Regions from separate parts of the Homo sapiens genome. Here region 1 is linked to region 2. Evidence: promoter capture Hi-C in 16 types of primary human blood cells and fetal thymus (Javierre and others, 2016). All regions are on one chromosome and are shown on one strand. The core of a region is centred on a gene start or on the middle of the fragment in contact, and the rest is flanking DNA. Distances in the headings are between cores, read along the strand shown.

Region 1 (5,346 bases), core at 1,638-4,137, 370 kb before region 2:
GTTCAAGAAGTCTAGGATGAGGCCAGGTGAGCCCGGGGAGGGCAGATGCCCCTTCTCTCTCCTCTGTCTCCCTTCTTTCGCCTTTCTTCCTTTTCACTGGTGCTACCAGTGGCCACTAACCTCCAGCTAAGTGGCCGCTAACCTCCAGCTGGTGGTTCTTGGAGGCCCACTAAGCGGATGGTTCTGTGCAGCTGCTCTAGGGGCAAGGCCCCTGTCTGCAAGCTGCCTGCAGGCCAGTGGGGGACATGAAACCTTTACATGCCTGCCTGTTGCCACATGAGAGACTTGGATCACATGGTTGGGGGATCCAGTGGGCCGGGACCTGGGTGCTGTAGGAGAGGTGGTCCTGGAAAGAGATCTCGCACCTTGGCAGGGCACTTTAAAGTATAGAATGTCACTATCCGTTGTGTCCTTGGGACACTGAGACAGTCAGGTTTTCCAGAAAAGGGGGGGTCAGGAGAAGTCCCATTTTGAGTCACTGGGTCAGGCATTTTGGCTGCTTGATCCATTAATCCTCACAAGGATGCTGTGGCAGGGGCAGCCCATTTACAGGCTCGGGGGTGGGAAGCTGCTTGTCCAAAGTGACTGCCATTGTGGGGTAGTGCAAGGGTGGGACCCAGGGAGGGCTGGTGAGGGGGTTGGAGGGAGCCTGCGGAGGCTCCAGTTGACTCCTCAGGTTGGGGAACTAACACACCAGGAACCAAACCTCCCCCTCCTCTCCCAGGCCCCAAGCATTTCCTAATCTGTAGGCTGAAGGTCTTGGGCTTTATTGCCAAATTCTCTTCTCTCCTTGGGATTATCTAAAAACCACTGTCCAATAGAAATATAATGCCAGACACGTATGTAATTCTAAGTCTTCTAGTAGCCAATTTTTAAAAAGTAGAAAGAAACAAGTGAAATTAATTTTAATGTGTTATTCAACCCAATATATCCAGTGTCATTTTAGCGTGTAATCAATATAAACAAAATCACTAAGGAAATACCTTATATTCTTTTTGTGTTATCTTCAAAATCCCACGTGTATATATACACATAAATATATAACTTATTTCCTTAGCAATTCTGTTTATATTGATTACATGCTAATATATATATTTGAGACAGGGCCTTTGTCACCCAGGCAGGAGTACAATGGCATGATCACTGCTCACTGTCGCCTCAACCTCCTGGGCTCAAGCCATCCTCCCATCTCAGGCTCCTGACTAGCTGGGACTACAGGATGCTTTCCCATCACTTCATTGTTTTATATTTCACATATATATATATAATTCATATATATATTATTCACATATATATATTATTCATATATATATTATTCACATATATATAACATTTATAACACATCTCTATTGGGAAACTAAATTTTATATATGTGTGTATATGTGTGTGTGTGTGTGTGTGTGTGTATATATATATATATATATATATATATATATACACACACACACATACATGGAGCTGTGTGCAGTGGCTCATGTCTGTAATCTCAGCACTTTGGAAAACTGAAGCGGGAGGATCACTTGGGCCCAGGAGTTCAAGACCAGCCTGGGCAACATAGCAAGACCCCGTCTCTACAAAAAATAAACAAAACTAGCTGGACGTGGGCATGCGCCTGTAGTCCTAACTACTTGGGAGGCTGAGGTGGGAGGATCACCTGAGCCTGGGAGCTGGGAGTTCGAGACTGCAGTGAGCTAAGATCACACCACTGCAGCACTCCAGCCAGGGCAAGAGCGAGACCCTGTCTCAAACAACAACAATAACAAAACCTCTAGGCATCATTACCCTCCCCATTTTATAGATGAGAAAACCAAGACACAGAAAGGTTAAGTAGCCCAAGTAATCTAGGTCCAGCTGCTTTTAACTATCCCATTTTACAGCCTCAAAGGAGTTTTACTTCTATTGGTCTTTAAGAGTCCTTTAATAAAATTAAAAATGAACCCCTAACTGTTAAAACCCAGCGTGTTGAAAGATACCATTTTTTAAAATGCCCGGTGGTCTTCAGGCTCTCTCGCATGAGCCTCACGGGACTCCCAAGTGGCACCTGTGATGGATAAGGAGACAGGCTCAGCGAAGTGAAATCACTCGCCTAGTGCCGCCTGCCAACAGGAGGAAGGGCTGAGGTTTGTCCCAGGTCTCTCGGACTGCACACATGCTCTTAGCTGGCCGAGTGCAGGGCCCAGGAGGGGGACTCTGCTATGAGAGGAGTGGGATGGGGAGGCCCTCGAAGTGAACCGCCATCATCATTTCATCTTGGGGCTGCCGCCACCCTGGAGGCCCATTCCTGCGAAGACCAGGAGGGGGCAGCATCTCCCTAGTGCATGAGCCTTAGGGCCCTTCAGGAGGCAGCCAAGGCCATGAAAGCTTCAGCCTTTCTGGCAAAAGTGGCTGGGCAGAGCGGGGAGGTAGAAGGTGGTGGCCTGATTTCTCCAGCTCGTTGCAGGTAGCGCCCATGAACATTCAGGGATGGGACCACCCAGCTGCAGGCATCAGTCACTCTGGGAGGGTGCTGGATAAGGGGCTATGGTTGACCGAGCCTCCTTCTAAGCCCACTTCATCCACCAACTCCCACCTGAAGCATCCCCCACGTCCCCACCCCGGCCCTGCACTGCAGGCTGCCTTCCCCTGGGGCCCTCACACAATTTCCCCATGGCTTCTTGAGGCCCTGGCTTTGTCCTAATCAGCTATTCCGGTGCTAGCTTCACTCCTCTGCCCCTCCTGCTCCGCTGGGCGGTGAGTTCCCGTGAAGCAGCACAGGCTGGGCCGTCTTCATCTTTTAACTGTCTCTCGACCTTTGCTGCACACTGTTTCGTTGACTGATTGAATAGGTGACATCTGTTCTGTCTGTTTCCTCCAGGGCTTGGCTACAACGAGGAGCAGATTCACAAGCTGGATAAGTGAGTGGCCTGTCCTCCGGCAGGTGGGTGGGCAGGAGGGTGGGTGTCCTCAGGGCAGAGCGATTCTCAACGCCAGAGGAGAGGCAGTGAAGGGCCCTGTCCCGGACTGCAGCTGAGCAGAGTTGGGGATAACAGGTTATCTGGGGCCAGGGGAGGGAGTATGCATAGCTTAGTTGGAGGGAGACTTCTCAGATGCAATCTTGAAGTAACTGGATTTACTTCTGGTATGGACAAGACTGTTTGCAGGCTTTTTTTTTCTCTAGTTGTCCTCACTGATGCACCACTTACCACTTCCTGCTTCTGCCCTCTGCCTGAACCTTCCCTGCCTCCCCCCGCTCCTCTGTCTCCCATGTTTCCCGGACACACTCACGTCCAGGAGGCCCTCCCTGATTTAATGGTTATCTGGGAACTCACTCCCCCAGTTCTACAAGCACCCCGACCCCTTTTTGTCTCACACACACACGCACTCACACACCTTCTTTCCACGGCTGCCTCACTTTCCCTTCCCTTTCCTGAGGACTAAGCTTGAGCACATGTGTGTTCCCTGAGGACCCCCTGTGTGTCTCCCACGTCTCCCTGTTGATGTGGGCTTTGCTGGCCACTGCAACCTTCACAATCCAAGTGTGTGACCGTCCTTCCTCCTTTCCCAGAGACATAGCCCTGCTGTGGACGCAGGGCTTGGGCACTTACGACAAGGTGGTGACGGAGACTGACGGAGACTGAGGGATGGTGGGCTTGTGCATAGTGGTTCTGGCAGCTCATCTGCACCTTGGTTCTCTGTCGTTCTAGGGTGAATTTCAGTCATTTAGCCAAAAGACTCCTGCAGGTGTTCCAGGAGGAGTGCGTGCAGAAGTATCAAGCGTCCTTAGTCACACACGGCAAGAGGATGAGGTAACAGCCCCTCCTGAGCTCCTGGAGCCCAGGGCCTGGCCTGGCCCTTCTAGGCTTCAGAGGACCCAGGGCTTTGTGGAGCCCTGAGGCAGAGGGAGGAGTGAGTGAAGGGGTGTGAGCAGAGGAGTGGTTTTCTGTCCCTGGGTGGACCAGGCAGTTGGCTGGGAGATTTCTGTAGCTCAGCTTATTTACTCCTACAACACCTGCCCTATACAGTAGATATCATCACCCTATTTCCTAGGTGAGGAAACTGAGGCTCTGAGAACAGGTCTCCTCTGCACATCACATGGCTAGTAAGTGGCAGACCCAAGACTCGTATGTGGCTCTGCCTGCCTCTACAATCTAGATTCTTCAGGGCTTTTGAGGGGTAAAATCAAATCAAATCTGGATTCTTTCTACCGTTCCACCTGGTTATATTGAGAAGTCTCCTTTAGGAGAACACTAGGTGCCCCTGGGATAAGGACAGTGGCAGTGGCCCTTAAGTAGAACCTTCTGTCACACTGTCCCCTTCAGGAGTTTTGGGTTCCGCCTTCTCAGATCAGGCCCACTCTCCATCCCCTGCCTGTGTGAACACTGGCCCCTCCTGAGAAGAGAGGACAATTTCCCACGTGCTACCACATTCTGAGGCCTGTAGGACCTCACCTTGTTATGGGGCTGAGACCTTGGCACTCACCCGTCCTCATATCAGAATACCAATGCCTGCTTCTTCTACTCCAACCCACCACACATTCTGGTGTAATTGCTCTGGAGCAGGGCTTGGATGTCAGTGTAGTACAGCTTCTCCAGGTGATTCTAATGTGTGGCGAGGGCTGACCTCCAACCCCTGATTTAACAGCTCTGGGCCTTGGGGAAAATGTTCCTGTTCCTTCACTCCACTTAGAGATAGAAGAGAATTCACACTGGAAATGAGAGCGTGGGCAGTTCCCCACACTGAGAGCCCTGGTGTGGGCTATCCTCTGCCTCTCTGCAGCCTGACTGGTGCCACGCTCACCATAGGTGGCATGCGTCACCCAGCCCCAGCCACATGCATGTTGTTGGTGCTCCACACTACGGCTCTGAAGGGGGCCTCCCAGCCTCAGCCAGCTGTGTGCTTCTGCATTATTGCAGTGGGGCGGGCAAGCGTGGAGGGCACAGCTGGCAGGGCAGAGGCAGCGAGGGAGGCAAATACCCGGGACCCACCTGTGTCCATGTGTGGATCCGATGGCAGCTAGGCGAGCCCTGGGGAATGGGCTGAGTCCTGCTCTAATTCTAAGTCTCTGTGTGTTCTCTTGAGGGTGGTGCACGAGACCAGGAACCACCTGCGCCTGGTTGGCTGTTCTGTGGCTGCCTGTAACACAGAAGCCCAGGGGGTCCAGGAGAGTCTCAGCAAGGTGGGCATGGCAGAAGGATTCTAGGTGCTCTGGGGATGCAGGCTGGGGCGCTTGTTACCCATGTCTTCCCCTCCTCCAGCACTCCCCCTACCCAGCCACACATAAGCTGGCTACTAATTGCTGACCAAAGTATGGCTTCCCTGCAGCTCCTGGAAGAGCTATCTCACCAGCTCCTTCAGGACCGAGCAAAG
Region 2 (4,933 bases), core at 1,383-3,882:
CATTAGATGCTTTCACTGCCAAAGAAAAATCTGCTATTGGAAGTCAGAGAAGGGAGGGATTGGTATAGCCCAGAGTTGTTCAGGAATAAAGGATTTGGGTTTCATCTTTAATGATGACTAGAGGGAAGGGTGGCCATGTTGGAGAGCAATGGTGGGGATAGCAAGGGCTGAGGAAAAACAGCAGGAATGAGCCCACAGTGTCTGGAGTTGTGGAGAAACTTGGTTAAGGGGAACTGGGTTTAGAGGAGAGAGCAGGAGAATCCCCCAGAATTCTCTTCCAGTTCAGTAACTCAGATCTTCTCTATCCATCATTTTATCAAGCAGGAAGGTGGAGCCAGAAGGAGGCACATCCTTTATCCACAGCTACAACCAGTAATCCCCTCAGGCAGTGCTTCTTCCAGGAGGAAGGTGTTGGGGTAATCTGTCCTGCAATTAAGCTGCTGTAGTGCTTGAGGAAGAACAATGCCACCAGAGAAATTCCAAGGGAGTTCCAGCCCTCACCTGCCTGAGCTCACTTCCTTCATGTGACATGTATATACAGATATAAATAATGGGAAGCCTTTCAACTTGAAACAGGCTCCTAGGAGACCAGAAGCAGCAGCCTTTCCTGAGCTCAGGTAAGAGATCTTACCCTCTACTGACACTGCTCACGTTGTTGTGAGGATCACCTACTTCTCCTAATCATTTACCCAGGTATGTTCAAGGTCACATCTAAAGGACCCTTTTCCACGAGGACAAAATCTCTTTGAGGACAAATAATCATCATGTTTATCTTTGTACTTCAGTACCTAGCACAACATTCAAGACAGCGGGTGCTCATTAAATGCTCATCAAATTGTTAGTTCAGGACAACTAACATCAATCTCTACTTAAAATGAATTGATCACTTGCTCTGTGCTAAGTGTATAAATCATAGATTATTGTATTTAAATAATCGATTTAAAATCAAAACAATTTCTGGGTTAAGTTTAATTATCACCATTTTGGGGTTAAGAAAATTAAACTCAGAGGTGAGTTGACTTGTCCAAGGTCACATAGAGGTAGGGTGGCCAACTCATTCCAGTTTACCTGTGGTTTTTCCAGTTTTAAAACTGAAATTTTCGTATTTCAGGAACCATTCCCTGCCCCCCAACCTCAGTGCTGGGTAAACTGGAATGACCCACATCAATGGAAACTAGTAAAGCGAGGATTTATTTGGACCCAGTTCTCTTGTCTCCAAACCCAGAGTCCTCTTTGATTCTTTTGGGTTTGGTTTGCTTTTTTCCTTTTCCTACATTTGACAGTATCTCGAGTGGTCACAAATGTAAAAAATGTCTAGCATATTGCCTGGCATATAGGAAAAATTCAGTAAGTGATAATGATTATCAGTGCTGTGCCAAGCTATGGAGCCAGCCATATATATATGGATGTGTGCATATATATATATGATGTGTGTGTATATATATATGTCTTTATAAATTTTATGTATTTATTTCTTTCAAAAATATTAAAGTATTTGAGAAAATTGAAAAATTAAAAAGTAGGTTTATTACGACTCATGACTTTAAGTTTAAATATTTTATTTCTGCCCCAAACAAAATTTATTATAATTTTACTGTCCTGGTTTTAAGGGAAGGAAACTCATCAATAATATTTTCATCATATGCTTTTGAGAAACAAAGTTAACCATTAAGAATGAAACATGAAAACATGTGAATAGTGGTACAAATTTTTCCTTTTGCTTCAATATGGCTCAGCATGGCACTGTCGAATTTTGTCTTTATATAAAATTTTGATATTTTGTTTGTCATAAGCTTTTTAATTCATTTTGATATTGCACTAAAATATTTTTATCTTGATGACTGAGGTTTTTTAGTGCTCCCTTAAATTTTGCACCTAAAATGAGTGCCTCAATTGTTTTACCCTAACCTCAGCCCATTATTATTTTATCTTAAAACTCAGCAAACACCCTAACCTGCTCTCTTACTGAGGAGGCTCGCCCAAGAATAAATGAGTTCCGTCATTGCCTTTCTTCTCTGACTTTTGGGACCATTTGCTTGGTCTAGGACCTGAGTTGCAGGTCCAGGAAAGCGTGTACTCTCGAATCCACCCAGGAGTGCCTGACTACAGTCCTCCTGCAGAGGGCGCTGTGGAGTCCCAGACACGAGTGTTAGGTGGAATCGGGCTGATTGCCCATCACGTCTTGCCTTTCCCTGGCAGTAGGCTTGTTATGAAATCATTGACTTTCTATTTGCCTCTGGGGCTTAAGCGAATCTGTTACCCTCAAATAACCTATCTGATCTCAGACAAATGCCAAACAGAGCTCAGTTTCTCTGCCCTGTGGGTGGCCATAAAATCCAGACAATTTCCCCCTAGGTGTTTTCGATGGCGCAGCCACAGCTTCTGTGAGATTCGATTTCTCCCCAGTTCCCCTGTGGGTCTGAGGGGACCAGAAGGGTGAGCTACGTTGGCTTTCTGGAAGGGGAGGCTATATGCGTCAATTCCCCAAAACAAGTTTTGACATTTCCCCTGAAATGTCATTCTCTATCTATTCACTGCAAGTGCCTGCTGTTCCAGGCCTTACCTGCTGGGCACTAACGGCGGAGCCAGGATGGGGACAGAATAAAGGAGCCACGACCTGTGCCACCAACTCGCACTCAGACTCTGAACTCAGACCTGAAATCTTCTCTTCACGGGAGGCTTGGCAGTTTTTCTTAGTAAGTTGCGTGGATGGGCCACACTGTCTGAGGCCAGATAAGGCTGTTCTCTTCCCCTGACCCCCCACCCCTCACCCCGTGGACACTTGGAGGAGGGGAAACTCAGTAAGTCATGCTCTCTTCTTTGAATTCCTAGCTCCTGTGGTCTCCAGATTTCAGGCCTAAGATGAAAGCCTCTAGTCTTGCCTTCAGCCTTCTCTCTGCTGCGTTTTATCTCCTATGGACTCCTTCCACTGGACTGAAGACACTCAATTTGGGAAGCTGTGTGATCGCCACAAACCTTCAGGAAATACGAAATGGATTTTCTGAGATACGGGGCAGTGTGGTACGTAAGCGGGTATCTACCTCTCCTGAAAGCCTTTTCTCTTCCTTCCTTGTCCGTTTCTCTTTCCTGGCAGTACTGGCAGTGTAATCATAAAAAGAGGCAGGCTGGGGATTCCTTACCCGGGGGATGTATTCCAAAGAAATAACTGTAGTTCAAATATTTAAAATGTTTTGGGAAAGGACACCTCCCACTAGTTCTTGGCAGGGAGTGGATGAGAAGTCTTGATATTGAAGACCCTGGCAGCAGGCACTGACTCATCCTTGCTTGTTTTGTCTTCTTCTGTTTAGCAAGCCAAAGATGGAAACATTGACATCAGAATCTTAAGGAGGACTGAGTCTTTGCAAGACACAAAGGTATGTGCTTGGCCCAGACAAACTCTGGGAGGAGGAGTGGAGTGGGAGCATCTCCATCACCCTGGTCTTGTCTCTGCTCTCCCCTTTCCCCTCACCAATATACCTGTGGTTTTTTGCAGCCTGCGAATCGATGCTGCCTCCTGCGCCATTTGCTAAGACTCTATCTGGACAGGGTATTTAAAAACTACCAGACCCCTGACCATTATACTCTCCGGAAGATCAGCAGCCTCGCCAATTCCTTTCTTACCATCAAGAAGGACCTCCGGCTCTGTGTGAGTGTGGGTCTTGGGTGACAGGATGCATCTCAGCACACAGCTTCAATGGCTTAGCAACTAAACTCTCTTTCCTACCTCCATTTAATGGATGGAGAAACTGAGTCCAAAAGTTCTAATAATCTGTGTTGAGACATGTGACTAGGTAATAAGAACTCAGTTTTATTGACTTTTCGGTATATGCTCTAGGCAAAAAGTACTTTGCAAAGTCTAAAGAACTATAAGATGCTAACTATTTGATATTAATGATAACTCTGTTGTCTTTGAAATTATACTTTTTCTGTAGGTGAGGTATCCTACAGTATATTAGTGCGTCCTCTGTCTAGGCAGTCAATTAGTAGACCATTGAGCTTGACCTCAGAATATAGTCTGAATAGGACCTAGGAATTCAATTCTTTTTTTTTTTTTTCTCATGGGGGCTCAAAGAGCTCTGGGATAGAGCTCCTAGACTACAGCTGGGGGTTGTGGGGAGGCCAGATGGGGTACGGGGATGGCAAATGCCTTCAGTACTGCCTGCCTATTTCTAAAAAAGAAGTGATGAGTTCCATGTTTGAGCCTAAAAGGTGGCTTCCTCTCCTAGCTGATGATGAACTTAGTGATTCCAAATGTGAGGTCTGAAAGAGCTTTTCTATAGGAATAAGCATCCTCAGGGTTGTGGGTGAAAGAGTAGAGTTTCTGCCTGCTTCATGTCAATGGCAAAAAATCAGAATCTGTAATATAATCTATTATTCTTTGGGTCCTTTTCAGCATGCCCACATGACATGCCATTGTGGGGAGGAAGCAATGAAGAAATACAGCCAGATTCTGAGTCACTTTGAAAAGGTATATGCGACTTTGGCATTGATTGGGATGGGTGTGTTTTAAGAACTGAGATCATAGGTAGGTGGGATGGTTATTCACTGTTAGACATCCTGTAGCCTTCAGGTTCATAGCCCTCTGAAATCATGAGGACCAGCCCTTGCTTTAACCCAGGGGACACCCATCCAGGCTCTAGAGGAGTACCCTCTCTGGGTGATGCTCTGGAAATGGAAAGGGAATGGCCATGATTCCATCAAGTCACTACAGTGACATCTGGATCTTTTAGCTGCACAAACCAGAGGCAATAGTTTTACAATGTTCACACACTTCTATGTACCTTTGAAAACACTCACAATTTCACACACACACCCATGCCATTCAATTTCTCACCTTCACACCTTCTCATGTCTGCCAGGAAGGCCTGGATTTCACTCCTCACTGACTAAATCCTACTCATCCTTTAAAGACTCAGCCTGGGCATCACTTTCA

Evidence for each region. Contacts are between HindIII fragments. The CHiCAGO score rates a contact against its expected background, and 5 or more counts as called.
Region 1: a fragment that was not itself captured here is called in contact with the fragment with the promoter of IL20 in region 2 in 1 of 17 cell types (activated CD4 T cells); the score reaches 6.9 in activated CD4 T cells.

Annotation. Positions count from the first base shown.
Region 1 is chr1:206,487,965-206,493,310 of GRCh38, forward strand. It overlaps IKBKE (inhibitor of nuclear factor kappa B kinase subunit epsilon), which reads left to right. Exons shown (of 22, transcript NM_014002.4): 16 at 1-26; 17 at 2,855-2,894; 18 at 3,684-3,785; 19 at 5,059-5,155; 20 at 5,302-5,346. IKBKE-AS1 (IKBKE antisense RNA 1) reads right to left here. Exons shown (of 2, transcript NR_172918.1): 2 at 3,152-5,112. Among named protein-coding and RNA genes, the nearest start is that of IKBKE-AS1, 7.1 kb to the right of the region's middle. The HindIII fragment of the contact is 1,057 bases long and covers 2,360-3,416 here.
Region 2 is chr1:206,862,991-206,867,923 of GRCh38, forward strand. It overlaps IL20 (interleukin 20), which reads left to right and starts at 2,633. Exons shown (of 6, transcript NM_018724.4): 1 at 2,633-2,696; 2 at 2,833-3,021; 3 at 3,309-3,374; 4 at 3,494-3,646; 5 at 4,394-4,468. The coding sequence starts at 2,863. The HindIII fragment of the contact is 6,531 bases long and covers 1,792-4,933 here.